Linked DNA regions of Homo sapiens: region 2 is linked to region 1. Evidence: promoter capture Hi-C in 16 types of primary human blood cells and fetal thymus (Javierre and others, 2016). All regions are on one chromosome and are shown on one strand. Each heading gives the region's core, a stretch centred on a gene start or on the middle of the fragment in contact. The rest is flanking DNA. Distances are from core to core; before and after follow the strand shown. Region 1 holds the start of INSL4 (insulin like 4). Region 2 overlaps PLGRKT (plasminogen receptor with a C-terminal lysine).

Evidence for each region. Contacts are between HindIII fragments. The CHiCAGO score rates a contact against its expected background, and 5 or more counts as called.
Region 2: a contact is called between a fragment that was not itself captured here and the fragment with the promoter of INSL4 in region 1, in 7 of 17 cell types (endothelial precursors, megakaryocytes, non-activated CD4 T cells and 4 more). The highest score is 6.7, in endothelial precursors.

Annotation. Positions count from the first base shown.
Region 1 is chr9:5,228,240-5,235,268 of GRCh38, forward strand. It overlaps INSL4 (insulin like 4), which reads left to right and starts at 3,180. Exons shown (of 2, transcript NM_002195.2): 1 at 3,180-3,480; 2 at 5,415-7,029. The coding sequence starts at 3,285. The coding sequence ends at 5,638. RefSeq lists a promoter at 2,457-3,274. The HindIII fragment of the contact is 5,637 bases long and covers 2,809-7,029 here.
Region 2 is chr9:5,407,799-5,414,827 of GRCh38, forward strand. The region is part of intron 3 of PLGRKT (plasminogen receptor with a C-terminal lysine); the gene reads right to left. Among named protein-coding and RNA genes, the nearest start is that of PLGRKT, 27 kb to the right of the region's middle. The HindIII fragment of the contact is 701 bases long and covers 4,002-4,702 here.

The DNA.
Region 1 (7,029 bases), core at 1,930-4,429:
AAAAAAAACCTCCATGGGTGCTCTCCCAAGACTTAACAGTCAACCCTATAGGATGCCTGTGTTTCTCATCCTTCTCAGGATCAATGGAGGGCAGATGTAAGTACATACCTTTGAAGAAAGTTCCTTGTAAACTTCAAACATTGTTATACAAGCCTAAAGTGATGTTATTGGAATTTTAATAGTGTTCACAGGACCTGGTTTAAACATCACTAGTCGTCTTTCTCTAATGAACAACTGATCCATCCACTCATCAAAATACTATGGATAGATACACAAGACAATATAGAAATCAATACAATATATTTTAATGTTTGGAAGAAAAAATACAAATAAATACGGAGTAAGTTAGGAGAAATATTAAATGTGGGAGTTGAGTCAGGCTGGTGGGAAAAATTTAAAGATAGTTATAAGAAAAAGATGCAAACCTTCTTGGAAGGCTGGAGGTGTTGCATAAGCTCCAGTAATAGATCAGGCTGGAGGCAGCCTAATCCTTACCTTGAGTTAATAGCTTAGGGCACAGATACAAAGGAATGTATAGTAGTTTATCTAAATAGCTTGTTTACACATGTGGTCTTAAGACCAACCTTTGATCAACCGCAGGTGCATAATTGCTCTCTACTCGGGAGGGTGGCAATGTCTACACTCTATTGGGCTCATATCTTAGATCCACTTTTCTTTTGCCCTGTCACTTGGGTATACAACCCCTTCCCAGCCTTTAATAACGTGACTGCTTAGCTAGGAGGGATAGATTTACCCCCAGTGGGGTTCCTCAATAATGGCACACATTGGACTAAGGTGCCAGATAACACTACAGATCACTCTACTATCCTCCCATTGTGTGTAAATTATAAATGTTCTAACCCTTAGTGTGCACCTACTGAAACACAATTATGGCTACATCATGGCAAAAGAAGTGCCTTAACAGTCTTAGCTGCAGGTAGCCTCAAAACGGAAATCAAGTCTGCTTTCCCAAACATTCCTTCCTGTGCTAAAGAACAAAGCCGGAAAAATAACGGATTCCACTTTAGCTGGGAGATCTGTCATGGGGAATAAGCTCATAGCCTCCAGTTAGGCAATTATAACATCCTAGACTGGAGCCCCTGTGGCCATTTGTAGGGCAGCCTTACTGATATCCTCATCCATCATGGCATCGATCACAGTTTCATAGCCTCGTCCCATTCCCTTATGATTTGGGCCGATGGGAGGATAGGATATCCCAGACCCCGAGTAAAGTTGATGCCTCCCCAAGACACTTTATGTTGCCTGGGACATCTTAGCACCTCCCTTGACACCTGGCATGGGACATATCATAATTACAGTAACAACTATACTATAACCTTTATTCATAATCACACTGATCAGTCCCTAATTTGCAACTCCATCCATATGTTTTCCTTATGGGAACTAATATTTCTATTACAACCCAAAATTCCATGTTTGTGACCCGGGTGCAAGGACAGGCTTTGTTTGCCTCATGTACCACTAATTACAATATATCTAATTTAAATACTACTAGTGTCATGGTATTAAGGAGACAATCTGAGGCATTCCTACCCGTCAATTTGACACACTATTGGCAAGGTTCCTCTTCCTTTGCCACCTTAGAATGTGCCCTATCCCAGGTCAGACCCAAAAGATTTATAGGCACACTTATAACCTTTATAGTCTCAGCCATAGTCATCCTAGCAACTGCTAGTGTGGCTATAGCATCTACTACCGAATCAGTGCAAACAGCTGCTTTTGTAGACAATTTGGCCAGAAATGTGTCTAATGAACTTCTCTTACAGCAGGGTATAGATCAAGAGATTCTTGCACGTCTGCAAGCCCTCGAGGCTGCCTTGGAATTTGTGGGGGAGCGACAAGATGCCCTAGCATTCTGATAGCAATTAAACTGTGACTGGGAGCATAAACATATCTGTGTCACATTTTTACCTTGGAATCAATCAATACATAGTTGGGATGAGGTGAAACAACACCTCTGGGGAAACTTTCATGACAATTTAACAGCAGACGTAAAGCAACTTAAAACTAAAATTTTAGAATCCCTTCACATGATAGATCTACATACTCAACAAACAGCCATATGGAAAGGTGTGCAAGATCATTTCTCCTGGTTATACCCCCGATCCTGGGGGTCACACTTTGACTGGAAAGGAATGTTACTAATTATACTCATGATTGTCTTACGTTATTTGCTAATTCTATGATGCAAAGCCGGAATAAAAGCAAAACCTAACAAACCTGTTGCTGCACACATCTGTACTCTTAAGTCAACAGAACCCGATGCAAAGAACAGAAAGGGGGGAGATGTGAGAGTTCAGTCAGGCTGGTGGGAAAATTTTTTCAGATAGTTATAAGAAAAAGACGCAAACCTTTTTGAAACGCCGGAGGGGTTTGTATAAGCTCCAGTAATAGATCAGGCTGAAGGCAGCCTAATCCTTACCTTGAGTTAATAGCTTAAGGCACAGATACAAATGAATGTAGTTTATCTAGTTTGTTTACTCATGTGGTCCTAAGACTAATCTTTGATCAACCGCGGGTGCATAATTGCTCTCTACTCGGGAGGTTGGCAATGTCAATTACCTTCTAGTGGTGTTTACTCAAGACCTTCGTCATTTAATCTATGCTGAATAAATGTGAGCTTTGCTGGCTGATCGGGGCCACGGCTGCAACTCTTTACAGCACCCTCCTTGGTGTCTGTAGGTGGCCCGGACCCTCAGCTGGACTGACAGGCAAACTATCTGTGTCAGTGTATGTTATTCATCCGTCGTTGGGTCAGGGTCTGTGGGACAGACCCCCGCAATTAAAAGCTTATATGCCAAATGTTAACTAAGATAATTTCTAGCCAATGAGCTTACAGGTCAGTTCTATTTTTATTTCATCTAAGCAAAGGACATTAAAAATTACCATTATTTTAGTAAGCATAAAAATAGTATTACAGGAGGAAAGTTAAGAAAAAGAAGTAGAACAACCAAATTCAAAACAAGCAAAGTGCAGCAGCACATTGGGAGCAAAGAGGGATATGAGAGTGTGGGTAGGGCAAGTAGGGAGACTAAATAAGAACTGAGGGAGAAAGTTCCTTGTAGGTGGGTGGGAAAGGGGTGGAACTGACACCATTGACGCAAAAGCTGAGTAATAGCCCTAAGCAAATAAATGCCTGATGAAGGCATGCAGAAAGCAGTCTGGAGCCCAGAAGGGACACACCAGCACAGTCTGGTAGGCTACAGCAGCAAGTCTCTAAAGAAAGGCTGAGAACACCCAGAACAGGAGAGTTCAGGTCCAGGATGGCCAGCCTGTTCCGGTCCTATCTGCCAGCAATCTGGCTGCTGCTGAGCCAACTCCTTAGAGAAAGCCTAGCAGCAGAGCTGAGGGGATGTGGTCCCCGATTTGGAAAACACTTGCTGTCATATTGCCCCATGCCTGAGAAGACATTCACCACCACCCCAGGAGGGTGGCTGCTGGAATCTGGACGTCCCAAAGGTGAGAGCCCTGGACTACCAAACAATCAGAATGAGGCCTGAAAAAACAGGCTCCAGATCTCATTGACTGCCTGTAGTCAACTCAGACTCTACTGTGGCTAGTGCCTACAAGTTTGTGGTTTTTCATTGTAATGTGCTTTTATTAAAAGGGTCTCACCAGAAATCTCATGGGAAGTTGGGGGTAGAGGAGAAGCTGCAGGAAAAACAGAAGAACAGCCTCACCTTGGAGGCTCTTGGTGCCTTTCCCACCTGGCAGCCAGAGATACAGGGTGGAGAAAACAGGGAATCCTCAGAGAAGGTGACTATTCTCAAACACCAGCAGGAGGTGAGGTGTACTCCCAGACCCCCAGGAAAGCTGGGCAGGCCAGAAAACAGGTGTGATTGCAATGAGATGCCTGGGCCAGGCATCTTCAATTAAGAAGAAAGGGGACAAACAGTGAGGTGATGAGCTGATTATCATTTCTGTTTATGCACCTATTGGCCTAGGGGCAGCACACTGAGACCTCTGTTAGGTTCCTGGAATGTGAGATAAAGGGGGCTTAGATTTAATAACTCTCATCCTTTGTCATTAAGCTGGGCAGTGGTCTATGTCACCAAAAACGTCCTCTTACAAAAAAGTTTTTTTTAATGCACACCAACAGAGCACCTTGCCTCCCATTTCTTTGAATCTACTCTTGTAGTGTGTTGAGAGAGATGAGATGAAGAGAAAGAAAGTGGCCTGGATGACTAGAGGGGAAATTGAAGGGGACCAGAGACAAGGGAATTTCACTGTTCAGACCATCATAGCTGATTTGATTAGTGTTTTCAACATTTGAGACTGCAAAGCATTTTCTTTAAAAGCAAGATTTCAGAATTGAGGAAAGTTCAATACCAGGATAGTTTTCAAACTTTACCAAGTAACAAGGTATTCATAAAGATAAATTGCCAGCTAAGTTAAAACTAGCAGGGGCAGTTTCGAAAAGAGATAGAGGCTACTATATTCTGTCTAATAGGTCGTATTAAGTTCTGAAAAGCTAAGTTAAATTACTAAACATTGTTTTACATTTAATACAAATGACACAGGTTTTGAACCAGCAATGTGTGACTCCAGAACTGCTTCTTGTAACCCATATGCATACACTTCATTAAATCATTAAATGACTCTGTTTAAAGTTATCGTGCACAGTGAATGCACTTGGATTTTGTGTGATTTATATAACGATTTCAAAGTTATTTCCTTTTTTTACATTATTAGTCAGAGCTTGTTTCATTTTACTATAAAATAAGGGAAGAATACCACAAAGTCCAAACAATTTCTAATGCAAACTAAGGAAGAGCATGCTGTACTATAATTTCTATTTAAATTTCACTTTTTTTCAGTAAATAAGTGAAAATCCTCATTTAAATACTTTGACAAATATAGATAAATTTAACAAGAAAAATGGAAAGTATTCATGGATAACAAATGTTAACATTTGGTGTCGACACATATAGATGTATGTTGCTTCTCAGCCTTTTAGCTAAGATCCACTGATATAGATGTATAGATTTATGTGGATCAGATTTGAATATCTGAATCTTTCTATTAGAATAACTTGTGATTATAAAAAAAATTCCCTATTGCTATCCAGTACATAATGCATTGAGGTTATCAATCAAAACAGTGTCAGGGAGAGTCAAAAGTGGTATGGTATAGGCATTTAGAGGGTCATTAGAAGAGTGCATAGAGGGGACAGGATGAGGAGTTAGCATATCCTTAATATTGTAGTATCTTAAAGTGCCCTACTCTAAGTAAGCTAAGTTGTTGAAATGTTAGGATACTTGCTGATTCTCTCTGGTGTTTAATTACATGGAGGCAATGGGTACATTGTGGTCTAGGCAAATTGTATAATTTTTCTGATCCTCTTTCACATGAATGTTTTTCCTCACCTTTCATTCCTCTCTTTTACTTCACAGAAATGGTGTCAACCTCCAACAACAAAGATGGACAAGCCTTAGGTACGACATCAGAATTCATTCCTAATTTGTCACCAGAGCTGAAGAAACCACTGTCTGAAGGGCAGCCATCATTGAAGAAAATAATACTTTCCCGCAAAAAGAGAAGTGGACGTCACAGATTTGATCCATTCTGTTGTGAAGTAATTTGTGACGATGGAACTTCAGTTAAATTATGTACATAGTAGAGTAATCATGGACTGGACATCTCATCCATTCTCATATGTATTCTCAATGACAAATTCACTGATGCCCAATTAAATGATTGCTGTTTATTAGAACATGAGAATCATTATTAGTATTCACATGTTTCACTTGCTCTGTACTAATATAGTCTCTCCAAATGGAGGAAGTTAGATAGATGGAATAAGTTCTAGTAGTTGATAGTACAATGGGGAAATTATACTTAACAATAATTCACTGTATATTCCAAAATAGCTAGAAGAGAATTGTAATGATTCCAACACAAAAAAGATGAATGTTAGTTTGGATGCATATCCCAATTACCCTGATTTGATCATTACACATTATATACACGTATCAAAATATCACATGTACTACAAAAATGTGTATAACTGTAATATGTGAACTACAAACTTACTGGAAATAAATTTTTAAAGTTTTACACACATAAACACATACGTTCACACACACTCACTCAAGTCTCTTCATTTTTCCTCTTTTCACACTAGAAGAAATGTAAGAGATAAAGGATCTAACCATCTCTAACATCAGCTCATAGTACGGAGGAAAAGCAGTGAAGGAATGAACTGGTGGGAGAGGTATTAGGCATGTTCACCCTAGGGTAAACCCAGAGACCTCCCTAGAACTTTGCCCAATGCATATCCTCCACCTGCCTCTCAGCACGCTGCCTTTAGACCTTCAATCATTCTATAAACTCCTCTTTTGTCCCTGGCATTACTCCACATCCCCTCATCAAAGTGGTGAATTGGCACAAATACTGGCATTCCTCTGGCTACACATACCTCCTCCCTATGTGTCTCTAAATCCTAAATCAAAGAGTACATTTTATACTCTGTCAGTGAGGTTCTACTAGTTGTGTTTGTTTGTTTGCAGGCTAACTGAAGCTGCTACTACCTCATTATCAGGTCCTATAAACTTAATTCAAGTGGCATGATTTGAGTAGCCCCCTGTGCCTGCCCATAAAGTGCTCTGAATCTAGTGTGGGACATGGAGAAGCAAAGGATAATAAGTGCAATGATACTTGTAGGTCATCATAGAGACTGTAATGATCCACAGGAATCAGGGTCGTGTTTAATGCCAACATGTGAAAGAATAAATATACAGGGAACAGTGTAGGTAAGAGGAGAGAGCAAAATTTCCCTAAGGAAACTGATGGCTGATCTGCATCTTGAAAGACATCTAAGCAGAAGAGAGTGCAAAAAGGGACAAGTAGAAGCCCAGGAAAATGCACAAAGGCCTGGAAGCATAGCATGTGTGGAAACAGCCAGAGTCAGCAGGGCAGGAGGTGGTGTGGAGAAAAGGAATTGTCAAGATCTGGTTGGAATGGAGACAGGAGAGAGGATCTCAAACGATTCCACACAATGCAGCTATG
Region 2 (7,029 bases), core at 3,102-5,601, 180 kb after region 1:
ATAGTAACATTTGACCTTAAAACCATAATTTTAAAAGAAAAGCAAAATGCTATTGCCACTCTTAATTGCATCTGTAACTATGTGTGTGTGTGTCTGTGTGTGTATGACTGATATTAGCATTTAATGCTGCCATTTTCAAGTACTACTACAAAGGTTTAGTGTTTCATTGCCTAATCTGTATATAGACAACTCTATTGTAAGTCCAGGACATGGAATTTAACAGAAGCCCACCAAAGACATGTAGAAATTTTCTCTGAGGGAATAACTGGTCTAAATTTGGAGGGGCAAGAAAAAAAGTTTTATTTTAGATTATATTTTGCTATAAAATCATATTATCTTGTTCACACTGAAAGTGGCTTTCGAACTGTGAAATGGGCAGAGGTTGGAAGAGTGTGGAGGGCTCAGAGGAAGACAGAAGGATGACGGAAAGTTGGATCTTCCTAGAGACTTGCTGAATGGTTGTGACCCAAATGCTGATAGTGATATGGACAGAGATGGCCAGGTGGATGAGGTCTCAGATGGAAATGAAAAACCTATGGGAAGCGGAGCAGTCACTTCTCTTAAGCTTTAGCAAAGAGCCTGGCTGCACTGTGCCCCTGCCAAGGGATATGCGCAACTTCGAGCTTGAGAGTGATGATTTACGGTATCTGGTGGAAGAAATTTCTAACCAGCAAAACATTTGAGATGTAGACTGGCTGCTTCTAGCAGCCTAGGCTCATATGCACAAGCAAAGAAATGACCTAAAACTGGAACTTATATTTAAAAGGGAGCATAAAAGTTTACAAAATTTGTAGCATAGCCATGTGGTAGAAAAGAAAAGCCCATTTCTGGGTGAAGAATTCAAGCAGGCTGCATCAATTTGCATAAGTAAAGAGGAGCCAAGTCTAATAGTCAAGACAATAAAGAAAAGGCCTTGAAGACATTTCAGAGACCTTTGCAGCAGCCCCTCCCATCACAGGCCCAGAGGCCTAAGAGGACAGAATGGTTTCCTGGGCCAGGCCCAGAGCCCCACTTCCCTGCACAGCCTTGGGACACTGTTCCCCCACATCACAGTCACTCCAGCTCCAGCTTCAGGTCAGATACAGCTCAGATACAGATACAGCTCTGGTCACTGCTTCAGAGGGTGCAAGCTGTAAGTCTTGGCAGCTTCCATGTGATGCTAAGCCTGTGAGTATGCAGCGGATAAGAGTTGAGGCTTGGGAGCCTCTTCCTAGATTTTGGAGGATGTATGGAAAAGTCTGGATGTCCAGGCAGAAGCCTGCTGCAGGGGGAGATTCCTCATGGAGAACCTCTATTAGAGCAGTACAGAGGGGAAATATGGGGTTGAAGCCCCCACAAAGATTCCACTGGGGCACTGTGATGGTTAATACTGAGTGTCAACTTGATTGGATTGAAGGATGCAAAGTATTAATCCTGGGTATATCTGTGAGGGTGTTGCCAAAGGAGATTAACATTTAAGTCAGTGGGTTGGGGAAGGCAGATCTACCCTTAATCTGGATGGGCACCATCTAATCAGCTGCCAGTGAATATAAAGCAGGCAGAAAGACGTGAAAAGGTTAGACTGGCGTAGCCTCCTGGCCTACATCTTTCTCCCGTGCTGGATGCTTCCTGACCTTGAACATCGGACTCCGAGTTCTTCAATTTTGGAACTCGGACTGGCTATCCTTGCTCCTTAGCCTGCAGATGGCCTATTGTGGGATCTTGTGATCGTGTGAGTTAATACTTAATAAACTCCCCTTTATATATATACCCAGAGTGGTAGATCCACTGACAGCTCAGACCCTGCTCCTGGAAAAGCCACAGACACTCAACACCAGCCCATGAGAGCAGTTGTGGGGGCTGAACCTTGCAAAGCCACAGGGATGGAGCTGCCCAAAGCCTTGGGAGCCCATCCCTCACACCAGTGTGCGCTGGATGTGGGACATGAAGTCCAAGAAGATCAGTTTGGAGCTTTAAGGTTTAATGACTGCCCTGCTGGGTTTTAGATGCATGGGGCCTGTAGCCCCTTTATTTTGGCCAAATTCTCCTATTTGGAATGAGAGTGTTTACCCAGTGTATCTTGGAATACCTCCAATGTATCTTGGAATAATGAAATTCTAACTTTTTTTTCCAGAAACATTCTAAGGCATGGCTTTTCAAATTCTTATCTAAGAACAAGCATAGGAGAAGTGGGACCTGGAGAAATTTTTACCTTTAAAAACCCTAGAAACCAAGCATATAAGATGATAAAATGATTGCTTTTAAAATAATAAAATAATATTTTGACTTTAAAACTTTATTTTTAAAAGCAAGAAAAATTGCTATTACTGGCCTTAATTGTACCTATTCATTTTTCTATTTGTGACTGAAATAAGCATTTAAGGTGATCATTTTCAAGTATAAAAGTTTACACTACATTATACAATCTGTGCAATCAACCTCACTATAAACTCAAGACATAGAAATTAACAGAAGTGGGTGGGCACAGTGGCTCATGCCTGTAATCCCGGCACTTTGGGAGGCTGAGTCAAGTGGATCACTTGAGGTCAGGAGTTTAAGACCAGCCTAGGCAACATGGTGAAACCCCCATCTATACTAAAAAAAAGTTCAAAAATTAGCTGACATGCTCACTTGAACCCAGGAGGCAGAGGTTGCAGTGAGCAGTGGGCCAAGATCGTGCCACTGCACATCAGCCTGGGTAACAGAGCAAGACTCTGTCTCAAAAAAAAAAAAAAAGGAAAAAGAAAGAAAAAAGAAAAAGAAATTAACAGAAGTCACCAAAATCATGTTGAAATCATAATTAAGGCAATAAGCAGTTTAAGCAGGCAGGGTTGGGAAAATTATGTTTTAGATTATGCTTCTCTATAAAAAATGAATTAATTTGTTCATACTGAAACTTTGTCTAACACTATTGTCTGTTGCATAGCTCTTGGAATAAGGCAGATCCACAGTAGAAAATTAAAACGTTTCACTTCTAGTACAGGTTTATGGCCTGTACCACAGAGAAAGATTAGAAATGGCATCAGTATATCAAATAAGCGTTTACAAATGAACAATAAAATTTTGTCTCCATTTTTTAAAGCACAGCCTTTTACCTTGAGACCAATACACAACACTCTAGATGAAATAAATCAGCATTATTTACTTCAGCTTGATATAATATTAATTGTTATATGGCTAAACAAAATGGGTATTTGTATGATAATATTTAGCTTAACTTACTCTCTGGTTATGTATATAATGAAACTAGAGATGAAAGAAAAAATGGAGTAGTCATCATGAGCAAATAAGAGAAAAGAAAGCAGACAAGAAAAGATGGAAACAGGCCAGTTGCGGTGACTCACGCCTGTAATCCCAACACTTTGGGAGGCCGAGGCAGGTGGACCACCTGAGGTCGGGAGTTTGAGATCAGCCTGGCCAATATGGTGAAACCCCGTCTCTACTAAAAATACAAAAATTAGCCGGGCCACAGTGGCATGCGTCTATAATTCCAGCTACTCAGGAGGCTGAGGCAGGAGAATCACTTGAACCTGGGAGGCAGAGGTTGCAGCGAGCCAAGGTTATGCCACTGCACTCCAGCCTGGGAGACAGAGCAAGACCCTGTTTCAAAAAAAAAAAAAAAGAAAAGAAAAGAAAAGAGGGAAACACTATTGAGCATCTACTCTGCTACATGAACCAATTCTTGGGTATCCTTCTCCCCATCTTAGAGATGAAGAAGCCAGACTCAGAGAGCCTGTGTCACTTATCCATGGTTACTGAACCAGTAAGTGATAGAGTCAGGTTCGGACACAGGTATATGTGACTCCAAAGCCTGTGAACCTGCAAGTGCACACAAAGAAGAATGAATCCACAGCCCTCAGTAGCCATACCATGACGTTAAGCCACTGCTAACACATCCTCTTGCTGGCTAGGTAAGAAATCCAACTATAAGAATATATTTCCAATTACTGACAAGATATTACAGTTTTAAATTTAACTTAAAATTTCATTTTTTCTTTAGTTTAGCCTACAGTTTATTTATAAGCTTCTGGAAGACATTAAAATAGACTTAAACAAATGGAAAAACATTTCCTATTCTTGAATAAAATGACTCAATAGTTCTTCACAAATAAACTTATAAGTTAATACAATCCCAATGAAAAATATCAACAGACTATTTTATACTTGGGCATGTTGATACCAAAATTTCTGTGGAAAATCAAACATGAAAGATTATCCAAGAAAACATTGAAAAAGAAAAACTACAATGGTATAGTAGCCTCAACAAGCATTAAACCATACTAAAAAGTGTCTATAATTAAAACATTACAATACTAGTACATGACTAGACAAACTGACCAGTGAATTAGAGTGTCCAGAAACAAATGCAAGTACATACAGAGACTTAGTATGTGATACAGGTAGTATCTCAACTCACTGGGGGTAAAGATAGACTTCTTAATAAGTGGTATAGGTACCACAAGGTAGCCGTCTGAAAAAGATAAAACTAGATCCCTATCTCATATCATATATGAGAATAAACCCCAAATGGATTTGGAATCTAAATGTCAATAAATGAAGCTATACAAGTTGCTATGGTTTGAATGTGTCCCCCCAAAGTTCATGTGTGGGAAACTTAATCCTTTATCCTCATGAATGAATAAATGCTGGCTCTGCCCTCATGAATAAATTAATGTCCCTATCATGAGAGTAGGTTTGTTATCATGGCTTTGTTATAAAACCAAGCTTTCTTGGGCTTGCTTGCTCTGTCTTATCATATGATGCTTCCCGCCATGTCCTGATGCAGAAGGAAGGAGACTTCCCAGCCTCTAGAACCATGAGCTAAATCAATCTCTATTCTTTATAAATCACCCAGTCTGTATATTGGATTATAGCAACAGAAAATGAACGAAGACAAAAGTACCACAGGAAACAAGGATAACTGTGGTATAGGGAAAAGCTTTCTACATCAAGAATCAAAATGTAGAGTAAATAAAATATTGGTAACTTGACCACATAAAACTAAACTTTTTTTCATGGTGTAAAAATTTTTAAACCACCGTAAACAAGTGACAATCTGAGATAAAATATTAGGAAGATATATCCATAGACAAGAGGCCAATACTCCTAATATTCAAAGAACACTTGAGGGACAGTAGACAAGAGACCAATAAACAGAAAATTCACAAAAAAAACAAGATATATAAATGGCCCTCAAATGTGAGAAAATGTTCAAACTCACTCATAATTAAAGAAAAGCAAATTAAAGCAAGACTGAGATACCACTTCTTGCTTGTCAGGCTAGCAAAAACTAAAAAGCAAGACAACATACTTTGTTGGTGAGACTTTGGGAAAATAGCCACTTTCAAATTGATAAACCCTTCTGAAGAGAAACGTAGCAATATCTAACAAGTACTTGCCTTTAACTCAGCAATCTCAACTCTAAAAATCTACCCTGAAGATACACCTCTAACAATATAAAAATATGAAAGAACAAAGTTATTCATTGAAGCACTGTTTGTAATAGCAAAATATTGGAAATAACCTAAGTACCTGGGGTGGGCAGAATAATGGGACCTCAGAGAAGCCCATGTCTAATCCTCAGAACCTGTGAATGTATCTCCTTACGTGGCAAAAAAGGACTTTGTAGATCTGACTCAGCTCAGGATTTTAAGATAGGAAAAGAAGAGTATCCTGTATTATCCAGGCCCAGTGTAATCACAAGGGTCCTAAAAGTGAAAGATGGAGGCAAGAGAGTCAGAATTAGAGAGAAATGAAGATGCCATGCTGCTAGCTTAAATGTGGAGGAAGGGCCCATGAGCCAAGGAATGCAGGCAGCCTCTAGAAACTAAAAAAGGCAAGGAAAGAGGTTTTCTCCTAGACCCTCCAGAAGAAATGCAGCCCCCCTCACATCTTGATTTTTATCCATTGAGAACCATTTCAAACTTCTGGCCTTCAGAAATATAAGATAAACAATTTTATGTTGTTTTAAATCACTAAGTTTGTGATAATTTGTTATAGCAATAGAAAACTAATACAGTGTACATACATCATTTGAATAAATTTTGATATAGCTACACAATAAAATTCTATGCAACCATTTTTTTAAATGATAAAGATCTCTATGAATTGATTTGGAGTGGTTTCCAGGATATACTGCTAAATGAAAAATGCAAAGTAAACAATGTATCAATGATATGCTACCCTTCACACATGAGAGAAGGGGGCATAAGAAAATACTCATATAGCTATTAACTGTACCAAATCAATGTAGGAAGGACAAACCAAAGATTTATCTTGGTTAAGAGATTAAACACCTATAGAGGAAGGGTGGGAACAGGGTATTATAAAGAGGAGGGGGAATGGGAATGAGTTAATAGGGAGAAAGAGGAAGAACATTTCTTGGAGTGTATCTTTTTTGTTTGTTTAAGACGGAGTCTCACTCTGTCACCCAGGCTGGAGTGCAATGGTGCAATCTCGCCTCACTGCAACTTCCGCTTCCCAGATCCAAGCGATTCTGCTGCCTCAGCCTCCCAAGTAGCTGGTATTACAGGCACCTGCCACCACACCCAGCTAATTTTTGTATTTTTAGTAGAGACGGAGGTTTCACCATGTTGGGCAGGCTGGTCTCAAATTCCTGACTCCAGGTGATCTGCCTACCTCGGCCTCCCAAAGTGGTGGGATTACAGGCATGAGCTACCGTGAATGTATCTTTTTTATATAGCTTTGACTATTAGAACCATAGCAATGTTTCATATACTCCTCAGCACTATAATTAATTAAAACCAACCAGATGTGGAGAGAATATAAATTATAACAAATAAATCCAACTGCATTACAAGTCAATAAACTAACACTGAAGGAGCCGGGAGAAACTAACCTTACTAACTTAGGAAAACAATATTTTGACTGGATACTGTGAAGACAAAAGGAACATGCAAATAACGTCCTCTGGTTATCGAATCTGTTTCTCACAGGGGTACGTACTGGCAATTCTAAAACTATTTTACATGTCTACTGGGATTGAAGTGAATATAGTGTAAGTGTCCCAGTACCTGAGGAAAAAAAACT